Linked DNA regions of Homo sapiens: regions 1, 3, 4 and 5 are each linked to region 2. The links are contacts of gene promoters, found by promoter capture Hi-C in blood cells and fetal thymus (Javierre and others, 2016). All regions are on one chromosome and are shown on one strand. The core of a region is centred on a gene start or on the middle of the fragment in contact, and the rest is flanking DNA. Distances in the headings are between cores, read along the strand shown. Region 1 has its middle 55 kb from the start of NCAPH. Region 2 holds the start of LMAN2L (lectin, mannose binding 2 like). Region 3 overlaps SNRNP200 (small nuclear ribonucleoprotein U5 subunit 200). Region 4 has its middle 73 kb from the start of NCAPH. Region 5 overlaps NCAPH (non-SMC condensin I complex subunit H).

Region 1 (5,065 bases), core at 1,921-4,420, 350 kb before region 2:
AGAGTCTTGCTCTGTTGCCCAGGTTGTAGTGCAGTGGTGCAATCTCAGCTCACTGCAACCTCCACCTCCTGGTTTCAAGTGATTCTCCTGCCTCAGCCTCCGAAGTAGCTGGGATTACAGGCACACACCATCATGCCCAGCTAATTTTTGTATTTTTAGTAGAGACGAGGTTTCGCCATGTTGGCCAGGCTGGTCTCAAACTCCTGACCTCAAATGATCTGCCCGCCCTGGCCTCACAAAGTGCTGGGATTACAGGCATGAGCCACCTCATCCAGCCTTTTTTTTTTTTTAATGTAGAGACAGGGTCTCGCTCTGTTAGCTAGGTTGGAGTGCAATGGTGTGACCATAGCTCATCAAACTCCTGGGCCCAAGCAATACTCCTGCCTCAGTCTCCCTAGGAGCTACAGGAAGTAGGATTACAGGCATGTGCCACCACACCTGGCTAAATTTTTTTTGTAGAAACAGGGTTTCAGTATGTTGCCCAGGCTGGTCTTGAACTCCTAGGCTCAAGGGATCCTCCTGCCTTGGCCTCCCAAAGCTCTGGAATTACAGGCATGAGCCACCATCCCAGCCTAGGATTTCTATTTTTATTTTTATTTATGTATTTATTTTTCTGAGACAGATTCTGGTTCTGTCACCCAGGCCAGAGTGCGGTGGCATGATCTTGACTCACTGCAACCTCTGCCTCCCAGGTTCAGGCAATTCTCCTGCCTCAGCCTCCTAAGAAGCTGGGATTATGGGTGTGCACCACACCTGGCTAATTTTTGTATTTTTAGTAGAGATGGGGTTTTGCCATGTTGGCCAGGCTGGTCTCAAACTCCCGACCTCAGATGATCTGCTCACCTCAGCCTCCCAAAGTGCTGGGATTACATTTTTATTTATTTTTTATTTTATTTATTTATTTATTCTATTTTTTTTTTTTTTTTTTTTTTTTTTGAGACAGAGTCTCTGTCACCCAGGCTGGAGTGCAGTGGCGCGATCTCGGCTCACTGCAAGCTCCGCCTCCCGGGTTCACGCCATTCTTCTGCCTCAGCCTCTCTGAGTAGCTGGGACTACAGGCGCCCGCCACCGCGCCCGGCTAATTTTTTTTTGTATTTTTAGTAGAGACAGGGTTTCACCGTGGTCTCGATCTCCTGACCTCATCATCCGCCCGCCTCGGCCTCCCAAAGTGCTGGGACTACAAGCATGAGCCACCGCGCCCGGCCTTTTTTTTATTGTTTTTATTTTTAATTTGAGATTCTCCATTTCTTCATTGATTGTATATTTTCCTTCAATTATTTAAACATATTTATAATAGCTACTCGGAAGTCTTTGCTAAATCAAACATCTGGGCCCGCATAGCATCAATTTCTATTTGCCCCTTTTCCTGAATAGAGATCACATATTCCTGTTTCTTTGCATGTTTAGTAACTTTTGGTTGAACATTGGATATTGTAGATACAATGTTATAGTGACTTTGGATTCTGTCATGTTCTTCTAAAGATGCTTGGATTTTTATTCCAGTAAGCAGTTAATTGTCTGGATTCAATCTGCAAACTTCACATCCCTCACAGTGTAGTTATTGATATCTGTTCTTTTTGTGACCCGCTATTGCTTTAAGCCTGATCCCACAGGTCTTTCCTCTGCCTGCCAGATTTGGTGGCTAGCCAAGTATTTGGGCAGACATGGGGTTCATCGTGGCTGTGACTTCCTTGCTTCTAGGGATTCCCCTAATTTCCAGCCGCTCTGCCTGCTGTGTGCTCTGTCCTTAACTTCAGCTTTTTGAAACCCAAGATGCATGTGTTTGAGGCAAGGAGCATCAGACCCACAGCCCTTGTTCTGCATAGCTGTCTTTCAAGAGAAGACTCTTTCACCAGGCCCTGAGGGGTTTGCTTCACGTAGGCACAGCTGAACTGTCAGTGGAGCAAAGCAGCTCATGCCCAGAACTGTCTTGTTGTTTGCTTGTTTTGATTTTAGTTTTAGTTTAAAACTCTTCTGAGGCAGGGTGTGGTGGCTCAGGCCTGTAATCCCAGCACTTTGGGAGGCCGAGGCAGTAGGATCACTTAAGCCCAAGAATTTGAGACCAGCCTAGGCAACAGTGAGACCCTGTCTCTGAAAAAAAATCAATCAATCAATACATAAATTTTCCAGGCGTGGTGTCACACGCCTGTGGTCATAGCTACTTGGGAGGCTGAGGTGGAAGGATGGCTTGAGCCCAGGAGGTCAAGGCTACAGTGAGTTGCAATTGTGCCACTGCACTTCAGCCCGGGCGACAAAGCCAGACCCTGTCTCAAAAAACAAAAAACAACTATGGCTGAGTGCAGTGGCTTATGCCTGTAATCCCAGCACTTTGGGAGCTTGAGGCCAGAGGATCACTTTGAGGCCAGAGGATCACTTGAGCCCAAAAGTTCAAGACCAGCCTGGGCATTGTGGCGAGACCTCATCTCTACAAAAAATACAAAAATTAGCCAGGCATGGTGGCATGGGCCTGTAGTCCCAGCTACTCAGGAGGCTGAGGTGAGAGGATCACCTAAGCCCAGGAGGTCGAAGCTGCAATGAGCCGTGTTTGCACCAATTCATTCCAGCCTGGGGCTACAGAGCAAGATCCTGTCTCGAAAAAAATAAAAAATAAATAAAACTCTTCTGGTTTCTGTCTGATTTCCAGTATCTTTAAGTTTGGGGTTTTTGTTTTGTTTTGTTTTGATTTTTTTTTTTTTTTTAATACACAGAGTCTCACTCTGTTGCCCAGGCTGGAGTGCAGTGGCATGATCATAGCTCATTGTAATCTTGAACCTCTGGGCTCAAGCGATCTTCCTGCCTCAGCTTTTGGAGTAGCTAGGACAACAGGCACATGCCACTATGCCCAACTTATTAAAAAAAAAAAAAAGAAAGTTTTGTAGAGATGGAGTCTCTCTATGTTGCCAAGACTGGTCTTGAACTCCCAGCATCAAGGAATCCTTCTGCCTTGGCCTCCTAAAGTGTTAGGATTACAGGTGTGAGCCACCATACCTGGCCTTTAAGTATTTTTTTTAAATCCAGTATTTTACTGTTTTGAAAGCCCCCAGCTAAATTGGGGGTCCGGTACCACAGTGCCTAGCAACACCGCCCTAACACGAAATAAGCAGGAGCAGGATGTGGGTGTTTACACTGTGCCTTTCGTTACTTCTAACTGTGGACAGCCTGCTGCTTAGTTGTCTGATCCATGACCAGGTGTCCCTCACTGGGAAACTTGTTTATACTGGCAGACACCTGGTGGCCCTTGTCTGACCCATGTCCTGCCTGCCCATTGCTCTGATGCTAGGATCCTGACCTTGTGTTCTCCCTGGCATCCCAGGGAAAACTCCGCCTGGGGTAGCCCCTGGTTCTTCAGATGGAGGGCGCAGTACACCATAATCAGAAACAAGCTGAAAGATTTATTACTTTCAGATCCTGGGCAGGGAAGGCACAGTGAGTCAGGAGGATGTCTCCTGTCCCTGGCTCACACGAAGCAGGAACAAAGGGTCAGGCAGAAAGAGAGAGAGAGAGAGAGAGAAAGAAAGGGAGAGACAGAGAGAGAGGCAGCAACTGACAGTATGTATAAGGAGGCTCATCAGAGCCCAGGAGTATAGATAAGGAAATAGGATGTGGGTCACCTTAAGTTCATGCACAAATGCCTGAATGGTCCATTAAACAGAAGCAGCAGGAAAAGTGGGGAGCTGCTAGGTGAGAGAGCTGCTTCTAAGTTCTTACCTCTGGTCACCTGCTTGAACCATTTGGGTGTGTGGTTCTGCTTCTAATGCCTAGGCAGCAACCTTCGCTGTGTCATTCCCATGACATTTATCACTGTTGGTTTGGGGGTTGGCGTGCTCACTTAACTCCTGCCTCTACCAAATGGTCACTCTCCACCAGTTGCGTGTGTGTGTGTGTGTTTGTGTGTGTGTATTAGCCCTTGCATGTGTGTGTATTATCTTGCATTGCTGAAAAGTAATACCTGAGACTGGGTAATTTATAAAGAGGTTTAATTGGCTCATGGTTCTGCAGCCTATAGGAAGCATGACACAGGCATCAGCTCAGCTTCTGGGGAGACCTCAGGGAGCTTTTACTCACAGTGGAAGATGAAGCAGGAGCAGACATCTCACATAGCAGAGCAGGAGCAAGAGAAAGAGAGTAGGGGGCCAGGTGCAGTGGCTCACACCTGGAATCCCAGCACTTTGGGAGGCCAAGGTGGGCAGATCACTTGAGGTCAGGAGTTTGAGACCAGCCTGGCCAACATGGTTAAACCACGTCACTACAAAAAATACAAAAATTAGCTGGGCGTGGTGGTGCGCACCTGTGATCCCAGCTATTCAGGAGGCTGAGGCACGAGAATCACTTGAACCCGGAAGGTGGGGGTTGCAGTGAGTCAAGGTTGTGCCACTGCACCACAGCCTGGGTGACAGAGCAAGATCCTGTCTTTTAAAAAAAAAAAAAAGAGAAAGAGAGTGCAGTGGGGGAGATGCCACACACTTTTAAATGACCAGATCTCACGTGAACTCAGTCACTATTGCAATGACAGCACCAAGAAGATGGTGCTAAACCATTCATGAGAATTCTACACCATGTTCCAATCACCTTTCATCAGGCCCCATCTTCAATATTGGGGATTACAATTCAACATGAGATTACGTGGCATCATGTATTGAAACTGTATCAGTGTGTGATTGTATGTGTGTGTTTCCCACTGCACTCAGCACCCAAGCATGTATTGTTGACCCCACACCATCAGGTGGCCTCCGCCAGCCCTCTCCCCTCCTGTCCACTGAGCCTCCCAGCTCTTCATCCTTCCCCTGCACACTGACCTTTTATATCTGTCCCTGGAGCAAACCATGCCCATTTCCGCTTGCTGTTCCCTCTGCATGGAATGCTGTGTTCCCAGGTTTCCAAGTGTTGACTCTGCGAGAAAAGGCCACTCCAAGAAAGAGGGATCTTAAAGATTCAGCTTCCATGTTACTTCCTGGTGTGTCCTTTCCTGACCTCCCAACATATCCCCCACGTCCCTCTCACCTCAGCCTCTTTTATTGTCTCCATGGCCTTATTGCTATTGAAAATGATCTCAGTTGTTAACTCC
Region 2 (5,382 bases), core at 696-3,195:
AAAGCAGCCACCACAGAGCCTCTGAAAGCTGAGCCATCATCTTTTTCCCCCTTTAATGTCACTCAATCTCCTATCTTCTCTCAGTCATGAATCTTACCATCTCTACAGCTTTCACAAGGCCTTTATCAGGTAAGGACCCCAAAGCACATCAGAACTCTCACTTTATGCATGTTACAGTAACCATAGCTCACATCCATTCTTCCCGTTTTATATGTGAGTAAACTTCAGCATCGTAAAAGAAAAAAATTTTCCTGAGTTATATCAAAAAGAGTTTGACAGGCCAGGTGCAGTGGCTCACCCATGTAATCCCCACACTTTGAGATGATGTGGAGGGAGGGCATCTTGAGGTCAGCAATTTGAGACCAGCCTGGGCAACATAGAAAGACCCTGTCTTTACCAAAAAAAAAATTAGCCAGGTGTGGTAGTCCTTGTCCATAGTCCTAGCTACTCAGGAGGCTGAGTTGGGAGCATCGCTTGAGCCCAGGAGATTGAAACTGCATGAGCCATGATTGTGCCACTGCACTCCAGCCTAGGCAACGGAACAAGACCTTGTCTCTAAAAATATATAAATATAAATAAAAAGAGTTTGACCCTCAGGCCTCCGGGGCTTAGTCACATTCTTCCTTTTTTTTTTTTCTTTGAGATGGAGTCTCGCTCTGTTGCCCAGGCTGAAGTGCAGTGGCATGACCTCGGCTCACTGTAAGCTCTGCCTCCCGGGTTCACGCCATTCTCCTGCCTCAGCCTCCTGAGTAGCTGGGACTACAGGCGCCCGCCACCACACCTGGCTAATTTTTTTGTATTTTCAGCAGAGATGGGGTTTCACCGTGTTAGCTAGGATGGTCTCAATCTCCTGACCTCGTGATCCGCCCACCTCGGCCTCCCAAAGTGCGGAGATTACAGGCGTGAGCCACCGCCCCAGCCGTCACATTCTTTCTTTAAACAATCCTTAAAGTGTGAAGCTACTCCCTGTACCCTCACCTATAAACTTCTTTAAGAATGAAAACTTTGTGTCTGCAAACCCATAAGCATTAGCAAAGAGACAGCACAGAGGCACTCCAGGCATGTAAGTGAATAAATGATTACCCTTAGTAGTAGAGTATACTCTTGCACTTTGAATTGTTTTCTGTCCCACTACCTACGCCTTAGTGGGGAAAGACTTGTGTTAGTTAAGCCATCTGCACTGGTTTGTCATCGTTTTGTGGCTAACTGCATTAATTTTCTGGCTGATAAGCTGTGCTTAGAGTTCTGTGAACCCTAACCTCTTTCACCAACAGGGCCCCTAGGCTGGAGAAGAGAAGGTGGTTCTACCCAGCAACATAAATTTATCATCTTCTCATTTCGTTCAAGTTCTACCCCAGTTCTTCCTCCTGCTTTATTTCTAGCACATCCACAGGTCCATCTGGAGACTGGCTCATTGCTAGTAGCCCTCAATCACTCCTCACCATTCTCAATTCTCTCCCCTTCCCAAACTCCTCCTGTCTAACTCCAGGCCTAGTACTAGTGGCACCCGACAGCCCTGCCTTTACCTACTGGAAACTTCCAGAGCTTGGCAGGCACACCTAACTCCTGCCTTTCAGACCTGTGGCTCCCAAACGCGGAGGGAGTCTCCGTGGGCCCCACCACCGCCAGCAGTTTCCTCCGGGCCACGAAGCCCTTCGCCGCCCCCGCCTCTACCCCTGAAATCAAGTCCCGAAGCCCGCCCCACTGCACGACCACCTCACCCTGGGCGCCTCACCCTGGTAGGGCTTCGACAGCGAGTGCTCCCGTTTCAAGTACTCGAACGTTTGACCCGCCCCGACTTGCTGTGGCCCCTGCCCAGACCCCAACAAAAGAAGAAGGAGTAACATCCTGGACCCATCCCGAGCCGACAAACATCGCCGCCACTGCTGCCACGACCCAAGGGGTCCCAGAGTCGCCGCCATCTTTCCCACCAACGACCCTTCATCAAAAGCCCGCCCCGTCGCCCAACCCATTGGCCCGAAGAGCCATCTGCCCTGCGTCCTATTGGCTTTCGTCAAGCCCCCGCCCCTGCAGGTGACTATATCACCGATTGGCTGGCTTCTGTATCAGTTGCCTTGCCAACCCAGAAAAGGGGCGTAGCCGAATGCCCAGCCCCCCCCCTTATTTGCATTTGCCCTGAGTTCCACTAGGCTTGCTGGGATACGTAGTTTATTTGTATTTTGTTTTCTGCGTACGAGAGTAAATTTAAAGAGATAAAACGTTTCTTCTGGTCCCAAACATTCTATCCTCTCTGCAATAGTACGCTCCTGACTGCAGCTCTCTGAATCAATTTGGAAGATATAGCAGTGAAAGGAGAAATAGACAAATCCGTAAAATAGCTGGAAAACTATCAATTTATAAAAGACTTGAACAGCACTACCAACTAACTTGACCTGATGATATTTATAGAAACTCCACCTAACAACTGCGGAAGACACATTCTCTTCAAATGCAAATGACTCCTTTGCCGTGATAGTCTGGGCCATCAAGCAACCTACAGATATAAAAGAACTGAAAGCACACAAATTAATTAATTCTAAAAGCCATCACCTCCTTTCCTCCCTTCCTCTTTTTTTTCTTTTTGGTTTGAGACGAGGTCTTGGCCAGGCGCGGTGGCTCACGCCTGTAATCCCAGCACTTTGGGAGGCCGAGGCAGGCGGATCACCTGAGGTTGGGAGTTCGAGACCAGCCTGACCAAGGTGGAGAAACCCCGTCTCTATTAAAAATAAAAAAAAAAATTAGCCAGGCGTGGTGGCACGTGCCTGTAATCCCAGCTACTGGGAGGCTGAGGCAGGAGAATCGCTTGAACCTGGGAGGCAGAGGTTGCAGTGAGCCGAGACCAAGCCATTGCACTCCAGCCTGGGCCACATAGAGCAAAACTCCATCTCAAAAAAAAAAAAAAAAAGAGAGACAAGGTCTTGCTCTGTTGCCCAGGCTGGAGTGCAGTGGCACAATCTCAGCTCCAGCCTCTCCCTCCCTGGCTGAAGTGATCCTGCCACCTTAGCCTCCTGAGTTACTGGGACTACAGGCACATCCCTTCGTCTTTATCCGGCACCACAACATGTGTCCAGACTGGTCTCCACGTAGCCACTAAAGTGATCCAAACTATCTAACCATGGTAAGTGTCAGGGTTAAATGAGTCAATATTGGTAAACCTCTTAGAACAGTGCCTTGCGTGTAGTAAGCACTATTTCTTTCTTTTTTCTTTTCTTTTTTTTTTTGTTTTTGTTTTTGTTTTTGTTTTTGAGACAGGGTCTCTCTCTGTCACCCAGGCTGGAGTGCAGTGGCATGACCACAGCCTCAACCTCCTGGACTCAAGGGATCTTCCCACTTCAGCCTCTCAAGTAGCTGGGACTACAGGTGTGTGCCACCTCACCTTGCTAATTTTTATTTTTTGTAGCTATGGGGTTGTGGGGGAGGTCTCACTAAGTTGCCCAGATTTGTCTCATACTTCTAGACTTCAGTGATCCTCTCTCCTCAGCCTCCCAAAGTGCTGGGATTAGAGGTGTAAGCCACCGCACCAAGCCATAAGCGCTATTTCATCATCATCATTCTTATTAACCGGGCCTTTGATGGCTCACCATCACCTGTGGGGAGGAGATTCAAGCCCCTCAATTTGGCACACAAAGCCCCCTGCCATCTGGCCCTGGCCTTATTGCCCATGACTCTTTTCCTCCATCTTTATGCTCCAGCTTCCCTTCCCTCTTTTTTTTTTCTGCAGTCCACTTCCTTCTGGAGGTCCTTCTCAAACCTCTCAGGCAGGGTAGATTCTCCTGTCTGAGCTCTCAAAGTGTTCCATGCACATCTCATATAGAGCAATTGACAGATCTGTGTTTATGTCTTCCCAATAGACTTAACCAAAGTTAACACTCTCTTGCTTTCCTGAGCATGAATATATTTAATAAGATAAACATAATTATGAGCCTACTTTACAGGGGATCAACTTTTTAAAATTAAAGCTGTCACAGCTATTTTTTTTAAAGAGATGGGGTCTTGGCTGGGCACGGTGGCTCAGGCCTGTAATCCCAGCACTTTGGGAGGCAGGCGGATCACCTGAGGTCAGGAGTTCAAGACCATCCTGGCCAACATGGTGAAACCCCATCTCTACTAAAAATACAAAAAATTAGCCAGCCGTGGTGGCACACGCCTGTAGTCCCAGCTACTCAGGAGGCTGAGGCAGGAGAATCACTTGAACCCAGAAGGCGGAGGTTGCAGTGAGCCGAGACCGCACCACAGCACTCCAGCCTGGGCAACACAGTGAGACTTCGTCTCGAAAAATATATATATACATATATATACAAAAATTAAATGGGCGTGGTGGCAGGTGCCTGTAATCCCAGATACTTGGAAGGCTGAGGCAGGAGAATCACTTGAACCCAGGAGGTAGAGGTTGCAGTGAGTCAAGAAGATCCCACCACCATACTCCAGCCTGAGCAGCAGATCCGTCTCAAAAAAACAAAAAAAAGAAGAAATGGGGTCTCAATCCATCAGGCTGGGGTGCAGTACTGTGATCATAGCTCACTACAGTCTCAAACTGCTGGGTGAGCCTCAGCTAATTTTTAAAATTTTTTCTAAAGATGGGGGTCTCTATGTTGCCCAGGCTGGTTTTGAACTTCTGGCCTTAAGCGATCCTCCCACCTCATCTCTCAAAGTGCTGAGATTACAGGTGTGAGCCATGGTGCCCAGCCTGTCACTGCCATCAGTCTTTGACACCCTACAATGTCAAATGTCTGGTGCTAAGACTTTAGGAATTGCAATGAATCTGTTCGTGTCATACACTGGCTTTAAAACCATTCATAACTCCCAATTACCAAAATCCAAAGTCCTTAGTGTAGCATTCAAAGCCCTTTGCATCCTGACTGAAATCAGGCGCTACGCATGTGTACTGTAATGTGTGTCACCTGGAATTATGGAGCTCAATTAACAGATTATGGGTTTGTCTCCGCAGCAAGGCTGGGAGCTCCAGGACCACAGGAAGCAGGTCTTACTCATTTCCTAACTCAGGCCCCACCCATTTCCCCAACCCCAACCTATCACCCAGCACATAGTAGGGGTTCTAATTGTTTTGAATAAATTATTTCCATTGCATTTCTCTGCAAGATGAATTTTTAATTGTAGTAAAATGCACATAAAGGCCGGGCGCGGTGGCTCACACCTGTAATCCCAGCACTTTGGGAGGCCGAGGTGGGTGGCTCATCTGAGGTCGGGAGTTCGAGACCAGCCTGACCAACATGAAGAAACCCCGTCTCTACTAAAAATACAAAATTAGCCGGGTGTGGTGGCGCATGCCTGTAATCCCAGCTAGTTGGGAGGCTGAGGCAGGAGAATCGCTTGAACCTGGGAAGTGGAGGTTGCGGTGAGCCAAGATCGCGCCACTGCACT
Region 3 (2,916 bases), core at 34-2,533, 450 kb before region 2:
TGGCAGAACTTTGCCCAGTCTTTCCTGATACCTGTTGTCAAAGTAAAAGAGACCCTTGGCAGGGTCAACACGTAGAAAGGTGGCTACATCTTCATAGTTGGGTAGGGTGGCACTGAGACCAATGAGTCGGACATCCTCTTGGGTCATCTCAATGTTTCGGATGGCCCTGGCCACTAAAGCTTCTAAGACAGGACCTCTGTCATCGTGGAGAAGATGAATCTCATCCTACGGAATTGGAGGACAGAAATTACCTCTAGCACTAGAGATACATAGTCCCTTTTCCTGGAATTGTCCCATATTGTAGGCATATAACCTAATATGCCTAAGAAAAAAGACAAGGGATCCCAAGCCACAGATGCCCAAAGGATGGAGACAATATTTCCCATGAAATACTCCAGAAAGTAACAGACTCTGACCATGAGTTGCTTTGGTACAGTTCAGTAACATACTTTGTATAAAGAAATTCTGAAACTCAGATAAATGAGTTTAAACTTTACTTAAAGGTAAACTTCTTTATGAAAAAGGATATAAATATGATCTGATCAGAAGCTTCACCTCTGGCAGTTATAGTTCCCAAGAACAAAAGCTATCACACATCAAATGATGAGTTTGAATAGTCTAAAGCAGTGCATCTCAAATTTTATTAAGTATCCCAAAGCCAGGGGATGTTGTTAAAAAGGAGATTGTATTCAGCAGGTGTGGGGTGAGGCCACAAATCCTGCATTTCTAACAAGCTCCTATTCCATGCTGCTGCTGCTATGACCCCAACCATGGATCAGGCTTCAAGTAGCAAAGCTCTAAAGCAGGGACCAGAAATGTTTTTTTTAAAAAGTCAGATGCTCCATCTCAAAAAAAAAAAAAAAAAAAAGCCGGGGGCAGTGGCTCACGCCTGTAATCCCAGCACTTTGGGAGGCTGAGGTAGGTGCATCACCCAAGGCCAGGAGTTCGAGACCAGCCTGGCCATCAGATTGGTGAAACCCCATTTCTACTAAAAATACAAAAAATTAGCTGGGCATGGTGGCGGGCAACTGTAATCCCAGCTACTCGGGAGACTGAGGCAGGAGAACTGCTTGAACCCGGGAGGCGGAGGCTGTAGTGAGCTGAGATTGCATCATCGCACTCCAGCCTGGGCAACAAGAGTGAAACTCCGTCTAAAAAAAAAAAGCCAGACAGTCAGTATTTCAGGCTTTGGCCCACGCAGCCCCTATTGCAAATACTCAGCTCTGCCATTGCAGCCAAAAGCAGCTGTAAACAATACATAAACAAATGGGTGTAACTATGTTCCAACAGAACAAAGCCAGTACCCACAGACTGCCAACCCCTGCTCCAGAACACTGAAAACCAACACGTGAAGTCTCCTTTCTTGCTTTTCCCAGACAACTTAAACTATACTCAGACTTAGTCACTAATCTCTGGAAGTTTCTGTGTATATGGAATACAATATCCTGCTTCCTCACTCATTCCCTCAGAGAATGGATTCTTTTACTTATAAAACCCTAAATGATGTTGGATATGATGGTTTTTTGTCTATCTGTTTACATTTGTTTCAAAATATTTCAGACATAGCTTCTTGGCCTTTTGGCTTAAGATCAAGTGTAGTAAAATATTTCAGACATAAAAAAATATATAAAGAATAACATGGCAGGCTAGGCGCAGTGGCTCACGCTTGTAATCCCAGAACTTTGGGAGGCTGAGGTGGGTAGATCACGAGGTCAGGAGTTCGAGACCAGCCTGGCCAACACAGTGAAACCCAGTCTCTACTAAAAATATAAAAATTAGCTGGGCATGGTGGCAGGCGCCTGTAATTCCAGCTACAGGGGAGGCTGAGGCAGGAGAATTGCTTGAACTCGGGAGGCAGAGGCTGCAGTGAGCCAAGATCGTGCCACTGTACTCAGCCTGGGCGACAGAGCTAGACTCCATCTCAAACAAACAAACAAACAAATAAATAAATAAATAAGATGGCAAACACAAGCTGACAATAGCTGTCATTATAATGTTTTGGATGGCCCTGGCCACCAAAGCTTCTAAGACAGGACCTCTGTCATCGTGGAGAAGATGGATCTCATCCTACGGAATTGGAGGACTAGTCATTACAAAGGCTAGTGCCTACAGAAAAGGCAGCAAAGAAACATTTCGCATGAAAACCCAGCAAACCCGCCCTGACACAACTGGACTCTATATTCTACGACTGCTCCCAACTCACCAGAATGATGAGCCGCACCAGCTGGGTGTAGGTGCGCTCACCACCCTTGCGGGTGATGATGTCCCACTTCTCGGGGGTGCAGACGATGATCTGAGTGGCACTGATCTCTTCTTTGCACAGCTGGTGGTCCCCAGTCAGTTCAGCAACAGTGATGCCATAAGTGGCCAGGCGCTGTGGGAGGAAAACTACATCAGGCAGGAATGCTTGAAGGGGCCTGGACACCATGCTTTCTGTTTGGGCAATTGGAGTGTAGGGCATTGGGAGCAGGTATCAACCCATCAGGTGAATACAAGGCGAATCAGATCTTATGAACATATCTTCCTCAAACAAATCCAAATTTAACTCAGGCAAATAAAGCAGACAAAAGATCTCTGGGGGCCAGGCATGGTGGCTCATGCCTGTAATTCTAGCACTTTCAGAGGCCAACGCAGGCAGAATGCTTGAGCCCAGGAGTTCTAGACCATGGTGAAACCCTGTCTCTACAAAAAATATAAAAATTAGCTAATCTAGTAGTACATGTCTATAATCACAGCTACCAGGGAGGCTGAAGTGGGAGGATCACTTGAACCTGGGAAGTTAAGGCTGCAGTGAGCCATGATTGTGCCATTGCACTCCAGCTTGGGCGACAGCGAGACCCTGTCTCAAAAAAAAAGACCTCTGGGAACTCTGTACACAAGAGGAAGAAATGGCAACTTGTAGATAAGAAGACCTAC
Region 4 (5,097 bases), core at 1,412-3,911, 330 kb before region 2:
AAGCTCTGCCTCCTGGGTTCACGCCATTCTCCTGCCTCAGCCTCCCGAGTAGCTGGGACTACAGGTGCCCGCCACCACGCCCGGCTAATTTTTTATGTTTTTAGTAGAGACGAGGTTTCACCATGTTAGCCAGGATGGTCTCGATCTCCTGACCTTGTGATCTGCCCGCCTAGGCCTCCCAAAGTGCTGGGATTACAGGCATGAGCCACCGCGCCTGGCCGATGGGGGATAGTTTCTTAAAAAAACTCACAGCGAATCTTCCCCGCAGAGCTGGGAGTCTGCGTGGGCCTGCAGCTGCCATCTGGCAGGCATGGGAGGTGGGGCCAGGCTGTATGCTGAGGATGGCTGAGGGGGAAGGACTCTTTTTTCGCTCCTGTTTTTTTAAAGTTGTACATCAATATTTTATAATTGTATAAATTGTTGGAGTACAAAGCGATGTTATGATTTATGATTCTTTTTTTAGAGAGTGGGGGTCTTGCTCGGTTACCCAGGCTGGATTTCAGTGCCATAATCATAGCTCACTGCAGCCTCAAACTCCTGGCCTTAAGCGATCCTCTTGCCTCGCCTCTCAAGTAGGGGGGAGTATAGGCATGTGCCACCACATCTCTACACATTTTTTTGTAGAGATAGGGTCTTACTATATTGCCCAGGCTGGCCTCCAACTTCTGGCTTCAAGTGATCCTCCCGCTTCAGCCTCCCAGAGTGCTGGGATTACAGGCACGAGCCTCTGTGCCCATCCATGATTTATGATTCTTGATGGTACCAAATTGAGCTACTAAAGTAGCTGACCCGGAGTTGCCTTGCCTTGGGGCTGCCTGTGATGTGGGATGACAAAGCCTCCTTGTTTAGGTCATTGGAATTAGGTTTCCTGTTGCTCATGGCTGCAAACATCCTAACAGATATGTGAGGAGACCACCTCCAGCTCACCAAATACACCCCCTCTCCTTTCTTCTCAATAATCAGTGAAATTTGCTATTTCGTGCGCGCTGTGTTCCCTACCGCCGCTTGCTCCTGCTCAGGTGGGGTGAGCCTCCTCCCAGCCAATTACTGGAAATTTCTGCCAAGGGGCATCTTGGAGCCTCTCTCACCCCCGTTCTCACCAAATACAGGCACTTCCTCTGAGAGGACGGCAGAGGGCGCAGATTTAGCTTCTGTCCTGCGAATGAAGCACGCAGTACAAGGTTCCAAACTGCAAGTCAACAGCAAGCACGAAGCAGCCACACTGGAAATGGGGTGCCTCCATCGCCTGGGGCTGTGGGCTGCCATCCTCTGCCAAGCGGATGCTCTGCCACCAGCTCCACTGACATGGGCAAGCCACTTCCTGTCGCCCTGGCCCCCAGCTCCTCATGTGTAAACATGGGGGTTGAATGGGCCTCTTCCAACTAGCTGGGTTTCATCTGTTGGCTGAAAACAACGGTCCCAGTGTGCCAGCCAAAAGCAAGCCTTTCACGCCCAGACTCAGCCTCAGGGACTGCAGGGGCCAGCTCCCCCAGAGGGGCCCGGGGACAATGATGTCAAATCTGTGACATCAACACCCACACAGAAAGGATCCAGTCCTTTCAGCCTCTCAGACTCTCTCAAACTGTAACGAAATGGGTGGGGTTTTTTTTGTTTTGTTTTATTTTTGTTTGTTTGAGACAGAGTCTTGCTCCATTGTCCAGGCTGGAGTGCAATGGCGCGACCTCGGCTCACTGCAACCTCCGCCTTTCGGGTTCAAACGATTATCTTGCCTGAGCCTCCTGAGTAGCTGGGATTACAGGCTCCTGCAACCTTGACTGGCTAGTTTTTGTATGTTAGCCAGGCTGGTCTCAAACTCCTGACCTCAAGTGATCCTCCTGCCTCGGCCTCCCAAAGTGCTGGGATTACAGATGTGAGCCACTGTGCCTGGCCCGAAATGGTTATTTGAAAGGATACAAGGAGTGGCGTAATCACAGAACCAGACCAAACTGAGCCTACTCTGTTGATAAGAGAATGTCAAGTTACCTTGTAGGTATAACCAAGCCAAAACTGCGAGTCATGTAGTCCAGGCACAATAGAAAAAGCTTTGACCTCTAACAACACCGGAACCAATGATTTCTTCCTGCAGAGCCAACAGGACTGGGACATGACCAGAACCTGAACACTGGAACCCTTTCAAAAGGAAGGAGTCTATGGGCCTGGAAGATCTGGGGCTAAAATCTGCCTCAACATACCTTACCACAAATGGTTAAATTTGAAGCCCTCCAATCAGACCCTGCCAAGCCAACATTCCTAAATACTTTCCCTTGCCCTCTGACCCCTTAAAACGTGCCCCACACCCCAAATTGGAGAGAGAAGTTTGAGCTGTGCCTCCTGTCTCCTTGCTGGTCTGCCTCACAATGAAGCTTTTCTTTTCTCAAAGCTGGAGCAGCAGTGTTGGCTTCTGTGCAGTCAGGCAGCAAGCCCATTTGCTCGGTAATAGCTGGAGTGAGAGTACTGAGACAGTAGAGATAAGACTTGGCTTCAGCTCAGCCCCACTACAGCATTCCCACGGATCACAAAACCCACACCACTACCCCACGATGCCATAATGTTTAACCATGCCGCTTACTTAAAGAACTCTGGCCAGGCGCAGTGGCTCACATGTGTAATCCTAGCATTTTGAGAGGCGAGGCAGGCGGATCGCTTGAGTCTGTAAGTTTTAGACCTGCTTGGGCAACATGACAAAACCCCGTCTCTCCAAAAAAATACAAAAATTAGCTGAGCATAGTGACAAACACGTGTAGTCCCAGCTACTCAGGAGTCTGAGGTGGGAGGATCACTTGAGCCCAGGGAGGTCAAGTCTGCAGTGAGTCATGATGGTGCCATTGTACTCCAGCCTGGCAACACAGCAAGACCCTGTCTCAAAAAAAAGAAAAAAAAAAATTCCAGGAACTGGCCTGAGGAGATAACCAAGGTTGCACAGTGTCGCATCCCAGGAAGGAATTCTGAACAATTGATTTAAAGCTTTGTTGCTACCAGCCAGACCACCAGGTGGCCCATTATTATTAATGGGTCATGGTTATCCTGACCATGAAAACCATGGCAATCAAATATGCTGACCTGCACACCCTACCCCTTATGAGGTCTGCCCGGCTCAGCCTGCTCGCCCTACCCCTGATATTAGTTCCTATGCTTTGTCTAATAAAAAAATCTCCACCAGCTCTTTTTGGAGAGTCAGTCAGGAAATTCTCTCTCTCTCTCTCCCTCTCTCTCTCTCTGTCTCTCTCTCTTTCTGTCGCTCTCTCTGCCTTTCTCTCACTGTCTTTCTGTCTCTCTCTGTCTCTGTCCTTCTGTCTCTTTCTCTGTCTTTCTGTCTTTTTCTCTGTCTCTGTCTCTCTCTGTCTCTCACTCTCTGTCTCTCCGTCACTCTCTCTCTCTGTCTCTCTATCACTCTCTCTCTCTCTCTCTCTCTCTCTCTCCTCTCTAGTGCTGCCTCCCTTATGTCCAGGCATAAGCTCTAATGAAGCCTCGTCTGGGAAAACTCTTTTGGCCTCATGTCAATTTCTTTTACATCCAGAGCCAACAGCCTGTGGTGGGTAATCGTCCCTTCTCTAATTACTTGCCCAGCATCTACCAAGCAGGCCCTGTCAGCGGGAGTCCTGCCTGCACTCCTCCCGGGGCGGATGCTCTCCTCTTGGCTAGCCCAGACAGGTGCCCTTGGGGCTCCCCGCCAGGCAGGCACTGACCTCCCGCGGTCCAGCCACCTCCTGCTCTCAGGGATGCCCCAGCCGGATCTCAGCCCAGCAATCCCGGGTCTCCAGCCTGCCGCTCCACCCTGGGCTGCCTCCTGACTGTTAACACATGACATTGACAGGGACTGTCTCTGTTATGGGTTGAATGTTTGTGTTCCCCCAAAGGAAACGAGAATATTTCACCCCAAAATATACCTCTTTGGCTTATTTTGAGATGGCTATTCAGAGAGGCTGCAAACAGAAGAAGGACTTTGAAAAGCTGCCTTTCGTGAGGGAGAGTTGCACCTGGAGAGAAAATCTATGTTAGTGAAATCAATGCCCAGGCTTTCCCTGAGGACCCTGTAAGCAAGTGGGGTGCAGGGGTGAGGGGGTTGGGGGATCTCAAAGGATTATAGGAATTTAATCAACTTAAGCAATCAGCCTGTTTTGGGTTTTTTTGTTTTGTTTTGTTTTTTGTTTTTTTTGAGACAGAGTCTCGCTCTTTCACTCAGGCTGGAGTGCCAGGCTGGAGTGTGATCTCGGTTCACTGCGAACTCCACCTCCCTGGTTCAAGGATTTCTCCTGCCTCAGCCTCCCGAGTAGCTGGGACTACAGGCTCGTGCTACCACGCCCAGCTAATTTTTGTATTTTTAGTAGAGACAGGGTTTCACCATGTTGACCAGGCTGGTCTTGAACTCCTGACCTCAGGTGATCCACCCACCTTGGCCTCTCAAAGTGTTAGATTACAGGCTTGAACCCCCACGCCCAGCCTATCAGCCTGTTTTACAGCCTCCTGCCCTGCAGCCTGTTTCTTCCAAGCCCTGTTTAGAATGCAGTCACCCACTTGATTCAAACCAGCTCCCAACAGACCCTAGCAACTTACAGATGAACCCAAGTGACCTTTCTTGTTACCATGCTAAAGTCTCCACCCCAGGAAGGGCTGCAGCTCAGCTCCATCACCATCACATGCGACCTATGTGCTGGCATGAGGATCACTGCGTCTGCACCTCTGGGACCCCTCCTCCACATGCGAAGACACATCCTCTCCCCCTCCATCGCCCCATGAAACCCTCCTGTCACTTTCCCTCAGGGGACACTGCCTTGGAGAATACTCCCAGGGTTCTACCTACTTGGGCCAGGTAATAAAACTTTTATTGATCAAAACCTGCATCCTCATGGAGAGTCATTTGTTACTCACCAGGCAAACAAACCCGGTTTTGGGGGTAATGCCTCCCTTATCTGAATCTAGGAAAGATTAACTCAGGAAAATAAACACTGAAGTCTGACACTTTTAAAGGTCTCAGAGAGAATCTTTTACCAAAGGCCACCATCTATTCTTTCTGAGGGCAGCTCTGAGTTTACCTGGGATTTTTTTTTTTTTTTTTTTTTCTCTTTTTCGGGACAGGGTCTTGCTGTGTTGCTCAGG
Region 5 (5,589 bases), core at 3,082-5,581, 380 kb before region 2:
AATTAGCCAGATGTAGTGGTGCGTACCTGTAGTCCCACTACTCTGGAGGCTGAGGCCCAAGAATCGCTTGAGCCTGGGAGGCAGAGGTTGCAGTGAGCCAATATCATGCCACTGCACTCCAGCCTGGGCGGCAGAGCAAGACTCCATCTCAAAAAAAAAAAAAAAAAACAAAAACAAACCACTTTTGACCATGAGTGGAGATATTTCAGTCCAGTGTATATACCTGCTAATGAGTGGGGCCAAATGCATGAGAATTTATCTTTCCCTTGGCTACATGCCGTAAATCTTCAGTTTCTTCTCTCTCTGTGTTCAGATTGATCCCATGTTTCAGAAGACAGCAGCCTCATTTGATGAGTGCAGCACAGCAGGGGTGTTTCTGTCCACTCTCCACTGCCAGGACTACAGAAGTGAACTGCTGTTTCCCTCTGATGTCCAGACTCTCTCCACGGGAGAACCTCTCGAGTTGCCAGAGTTAGGTTGTGTAGAAATGACAGATTTAAAAGGTAAGTACAAGTGATGCCTTTCACCAGAGCATTTCAGTCATTGGGGAATTTTTTTACATAACCATGGGGTACAATAAGCCCATCATGCTCTTATGTTGCTTAAATTACCCAGAAGTTTCCTCTGGAATGCCAAATTGTGTATCCTTTTGGGAGTGCCTTGCAACCCACTAACTTTTGTCTTCTCTGCGGCGTGGAGTCTAAAACGGTAAACCATCGCCTCTTGGTCTTGATGTGCCCGGTACCTTAGGTGCCCACTGTTTGCAGTCAGCTCTCCAAGTCACATTTGGGAGACCTGGGTTCCTCCTGGAGTGTCAGTTTGTTCTTGGGAAGGGGACTTAGAGAGACCTTTGCCTAGCCAGAGAGGCTTTGTTTTTATTTGCTCCCCATCCAGGGGGCCCTGAGGAGAAGAGAGCGTTGTGAATTGTTTTGAGACTCCTCTGCAGCAGTCTAAGAACTGATCTCTCCTATTATCAGTCCCCTATACTGGCTTGACAGAGATTTTAGCATCCCTCCCATATACGCCTCCACGCCTGAGTTGGGGGTTCTCCTTGGGATGTTGTAATGAGGTGCCAGCAGGTAGGGAGGCCAGGTGCGTGCAGTGCAGTAGCTACACTTGGGGTCCCAGAAGAGCTGCCCCCTCCTGCACATTTCCAATGCAGTGTTCGTACTCTCGCTGATCTTCATCTCAAGTGCGGTCATTTTTATGTGTTGAATGAAATTAATACTTCCCCTCCAGGCTGGGCAGTTGTTAGCTCCCATTCTTGTCATTTCTATTCTTGCCTCAATTTTGTTTAGTATAGTTTTTGTGCTAACGATCTATTTTCCAAGTTTGTGCTCTCATTTGGGGCTCTAATCCCCTGAAGTAAGTCTTCTCTAGTTTGGGACTAAAAATAAGTTAAAGTACCATTACATGATTGCCTATGTACTTGGTGTATTTTTAAGACGAAGCGTTTGATTTCCCAGCTATAGCATAGGTCACAGAATTCATTTCAGAATCGAATGTCTGTGCTTTAGGTTTCTCCTCTAGTATTTTACTAATTTGTGCGATGACAGTGCATAGCCTCACTCCAGCGTGGGTGTGGCCGACGCATCTGCTCGCTCCCAGAAGAGGCAGGGACACAGACTGGCAGCTAGCCAGCCACTGATGATACTTGAGCCTTTGCTGGAGGACAGTGAGGTAACTGTGCCTCTCATCTCTCGTCCCACTCAGTATCATTCTGAAGGGAGTAAGGAATGCACTTGACCCCCTTCTAATCTCTCTTTGTGATCTTGCTATCCTCTCCAGCGCCCTTGCAGCAGTGTGCAGAAGATCGCCAGATCTGCCCTTCCCTGGCCGGGTTCCAGTTTACACAGTGGGACAGTGAAACACATAATGAGGTGTGGTCAAGTTTTAGTGGCTCATGGTTTCAGTTAGTTGGCTCAAGAGTGGTCCTGCCCAATGGGAACCAAAACTGTGGCATCATCTTTATTTAGCCAGGAGTACAGAAAATATTTCCTTTGGCACTTCTGTAGGGACAAAAACCCTGAGGGAGGAGGGTAGGGTTGTGAACCCCAGCAGGACTATTCTAGAGGTAAGTGAGTTCCAGGATCAGCTTTATGTCCTCTCTTCTGCTATCCTAGGGTAAGGCGGCCCTGGCATTAATCAGTGAACATTTATAATTAGATTTACTCTTGAATGTGGTTATCCCAGTGGCCTCGAATCTCTTAGGCTGCCGTCAAGCTTGAGGAATTTCCTGCTCTTTGGGGTTGAATCCCTTGGCACAGAGTTTCCTGAGAAATTGTCATGTGTAGAGCTTTCCTCTGTGTATTTTTAGCATGGCCCCCTTTAGCCTACTTACTACAATTTCCAAAATAAATGATCTCCATGGAAAACTGTTTTCTGCAAACATGTAGTTAATGGGTACAGAATCCTGTTTCATGTTTTACAAAATGTGCCTGACAACAATGCAGCTTCCTCCTGTGCTGCACAATATAAACTTCCCCCTCACTGTACTATCGTGAGAGTCTTGGCCCAGGCAGGCAGGGGATGGGAAAGGGAAGGGTGGCTCAGGGGAAGGAGGAGGCTGGAAACTGAAATTTAAGGGTGAGAAGGCTGTCCCTCCAGTGGTGATTTGGGGTGGTTATAGGAATGAGAATTACAGAACCCTCTTTTGTCCCTCCAGTCTGTGTCGGCCCTGGTAGACAAGTTTAAGAAGAATGACCAGGTATTTGACATCAATGCTGAAGTTGACGAGAGTGACTGTGGAGACTTCCCCGATGGGTCCCTGGGGGATGACTTTGATGCCAACGATGAACCTGACCACACCGCAGTTGGGGATCATGAAGAGTTCAGGAGCTGGAAGGAGCCCTGCCAGGTTCAGAGCTGCCAGTAAGGCTCTCAGAGTCCGAAAGTGTTTCTATAGGAGTTTTCCATTGGTTCTTTTTTCTTTTTCTTTTTTTTCTAATTAAAAAATTTTTCTTTCTTTTTTTTTCCCCCCCCAAAAATAGAGACGGGCATCTCACTGCATTGCCCAGGCTGGTCTTGAACTCTTGGGGCTCAAGCAATCCTCCTGCTTTGGCCTCCCAAGGTGCCAGGATTTCAGGTGTGAGCCACCATGCCTGGGCACTATCAGTTCTTAACAGATTTCCTGCTGGGGTGATTGAATTTGATGTCTGATTGGCTGGGCTGGTGTGCTGTGTCATACACATCAGCTGAGCTTTTCAGCTGAGCCTTTCTGACTCAGAGGAATCACACCTGGCTTTGAATGTCGGCTTAGCCACTTTGGTTATAAAACTGACATTGCAAGAGTTTGTAAGGATTAGAACAATGTAAAGCGTTTGGAACAAAGCACCTGGGATCTAGTAATTACGTCAATGTGGCTGTTGTTACCACGTGCATTTTGGTAGCAGAGAGCATGCTCCCTTTGTACACATTGCTTATAGTGTGGCTGTTGGTGACTCTAAGCCACCAATTTACCACCTGAAAGGTAAGCAAGTGGGGGTTAGGCAGTGTTGGGTTACCAGATGGGCAGACTGGGGACGAGCAAGGCAGGGAAAACAAAACCAACCAATAAATTGAGAATATTTGGAGGAGAAGAAGAAGAATTGGTTTAGTAATTAAATTTTTGATTACCCTAGTAAACATCATAAAAATAATCAGAACTTGGTTGGCCTTTATGTACTTAATAGGTTAGTATTGTTTTAATTCTAAATATGATTTGGAAGCAGGGTCTCACAACACTTTAATGTCATGGTCCTGTAAAGGTCTTCAATGGGCCTGGGGGTAGGAGATTTCATGAGATTAGAGTGAACAGTCCCTCTGTTAACTCCTATGTCTGTAACAGAGCTTTGCAGAACTGGGATTGGGGACAGCCAAGCTGGTTTTGAGTAAAACCTTAGAAGTTGCTTAGTATAATTTCCCGCTATGACAAAAATCTCTTCAAGACCCTGCTCGGATGTCTTTCCTAAGCTCATTTTGTCTGCCCTTGTGGGAAACGATTAGGCTGATAATGTCTTTTAAAGACATTATCAAGGCGCCACTGCCCATCCAGGCTCAGTAGCACCCTGCTCTCCGGAATTGTACTGTTCACATGGCTGCAATTTTGCCCCATTCTCATCGTGTCTTTTTTGTTTTTATGTTTTTTTGTTTTTTTTTTTTTTGAGACAGAGTCTCGGTCTGTCGCCCAGGCTGGAGTGCAGCAGCGCGATCTCTGCTCACTGCAAGCTCTGCCTCCCGGGTTCACACCATTCTCCTGCCTTAGCCTCCCGAGTAGCTGGGACTACAGGCGCCCGCCACCATGCCTGACTAATTTTTTTATTAGAGACGGGGTTTCACCATGTTAGCCAGGATGGTCTCGATCTCCTGACCTCATGATCCTCCCACCTCGGCCTCCCAAAGTGCTGGGATTACAGGCGTGAGCCACTGCGCCTGGCCATCCTGTCTTCTAAGAAGGGAGAAATGATAGGTTGATGGGATGAACTCTTAAAAACATCATTTTCAAATGTCAGAGAAAAGCTATCACTTTCCTTAAACAGTGAGGTGACATCTGAGGGACTGACAATAACAAAGGGCTTCCATGACTTTTATTTGGTTTCTGGAAGATGTTTTCTGCTGGTTATTTTGAACAAATGTCTCCACTTCTCTCCCCTATTCCAAACAGCACAAAATCTTAGACTCTATCCTACCTAGTACATTAGGCGTGGGAGGCTGCAGTTCTAGTCTCAGATTTTACCCATCCTTAAATCCCCTCCCCTTGCCACATCGCTGGCCTTTCCTGGGAATTCAGTGAGTGTTTGATCTGGAGTAGATCTGATCTTGCCGTTACTAGCCCTGAGATGTGGGGCAATGTTATCACCTTTTGCGGTCTTTGTTTTCTCATCCATAAAATGCAAGGTTGGGACCAGTTGATAATAACAATATCTGATATTTATTGAGCTCCTTATTCTTTGTGCAAGATGCTGCGCCAGGTGCCTTATGTGTGTTATTTCACATAATTTACATAATATCTAAAATTAATTATTTTATTGCAGCAACCCTATAATTAGGTCCTATTATCCTCATTTTACAGATGAGGAAACAGGCTCAGAGAGTTTAATGGGGTGGAGCTGGTTGCCACCCAGCACCTTTGACCAGTCCTGGCCACATATAGTGAGCTTTGGATGGCAGGCTCCAGTCCACACCACCTGAGCATCTCAGTGGGTAGAGGGGGCCAGACATCACGTTACCATCCCCGGGTGATTGTGTTCTGCACCCAGGGCTGAAAACCACTGTACTCTACTGAGAGGTCTTCGGAGGCCTCTGGATGAAGGTGGGGTGGGGCAATGCTGAGTGATAAATACCAGTGTTGTGTAGATGCCTCACGTTATTGGTCTCTGCATGGCAGCACATTGACAACTGCAAGCGTAAAAGGTGGAGCTCTTTGTGCACATGCATTGGTAAGGACTGGTCTGCAAAAGTGCTTGATGTCTAAGAGTGAGCTCCCTCTCTGTGCAGCAGCAACAGCAGCCCAAGAACACTTGGAGCCAAGTGTTCTCTGGCCGACCCTTCTGTAGTACCAGCATGCTTACATAAGGCAGTTACTGTGGTTAATGACCTAGTCGGAGGTCA

What was found. The method cuts DNA at HindIII sites, captures the fragments that hold promoters and counts their contacts. A CHiCAGO score of 5 or more calls a contact.
Region 1: a contact is called between a fragment that was not itself captured here and the fragment with the promoter of LMAN2L in region 2, in 2 of 17 cell types (naive CD4 T cells and total CD4 T cells). The highest score is 5.6, in naive CD4 T cells.
Region 3: a fragment that was not itself captured here is called in contact with the fragment with the promoter of LMAN2L in region 2 in 1 of 17 cell types (naive CD8 T cells); the score reaches 5.3 in naive CD8 T cells.
Region 4: a contact is called between a fragment that was not itself captured here and the fragment with the promoter of LMAN2L in region 2, in 1 of 17 cell types (activated CD4 T cells). The highest score is 5.2, in activated CD4 T cells.
Region 5: a fragment that was not itself captured here is called in contact with the fragment with the promoter of LMAN2L in region 2 in 6 of 17 cell types (total CD4 T cells, naive CD8 T cells, non-activated CD4 T cells and 3 more); the score reaches 7.2 in total CD4 T cells.

Annotation. Positions count from the first base shown.
Region 1 is chr2:96,388,220-96,393,284 of GRCh38, forward strand. No RefSeq gene overlaps it. Among named protein-coding and RNA genes, the nearest start is that of NCAPH, 55 kb to the left of the region's middle. The HindIII fragment of the contact is 6,592 bases long and covers 1-5,065 here.
Region 2 is chr2:96,738,119-96,743,500 of GRCh38, forward strand. It overlaps LMAN2L (lectin, mannose binding 2 like), which reads right to left and starts at 1,946. Exons shown (of 8, transcript NM_030805.4): 1 at 1,736-1,946. The coding sequence starts at 1,922. RefSeq lists enhancers at 322-1,261, 1,262-2,199. The HindIII fragment of the contact is 9,784 bases long and covers 1-5,382 here.
Region 3 is chr2:96,293,285-96,296,200 of GRCh38, forward strand. It overlaps SNRNP200 (small nuclear ribonucleoprotein U5 subunit 200), which reads right to left. Exons shown (of 45, transcript NM_014014.5): 14 at 2,204-2,374; 15 at 32-225. Among named protein-coding and RNA genes, the nearest start is that of SNRNP200, 11 kb to the right of the region's middle. The HindIII fragment of the contact is 1,472 bases long and covers 548-2,019 here.
Region 4 is chr2:96,406,387-96,411,483 of GRCh38, forward strand. No RefSeq gene overlaps it. Among named protein-coding and RNA genes, the nearest start is that of NCAPH, 73 kb to the left of the region's middle. The HindIII fragment of the contact is 601 bases long and covers 2,362-2,962 here.
Region 5 is chr2:96,351,518-96,357,106 of GRCh38, forward strand. NCAPH (non-SMC condensin I complex subunit H) reads left to right here. Exons shown (of 18, transcript NM_015341.5): 7 at 314-503; 8 at 1,789-1,880; 9 at 2,666-2,871. Among named protein-coding and RNA genes, the nearest start is that of NCAPH, 19 kb to the left of the region's middle. The HindIII fragment of the contact is 4,220 bases long and covers 2,222-5,589 here.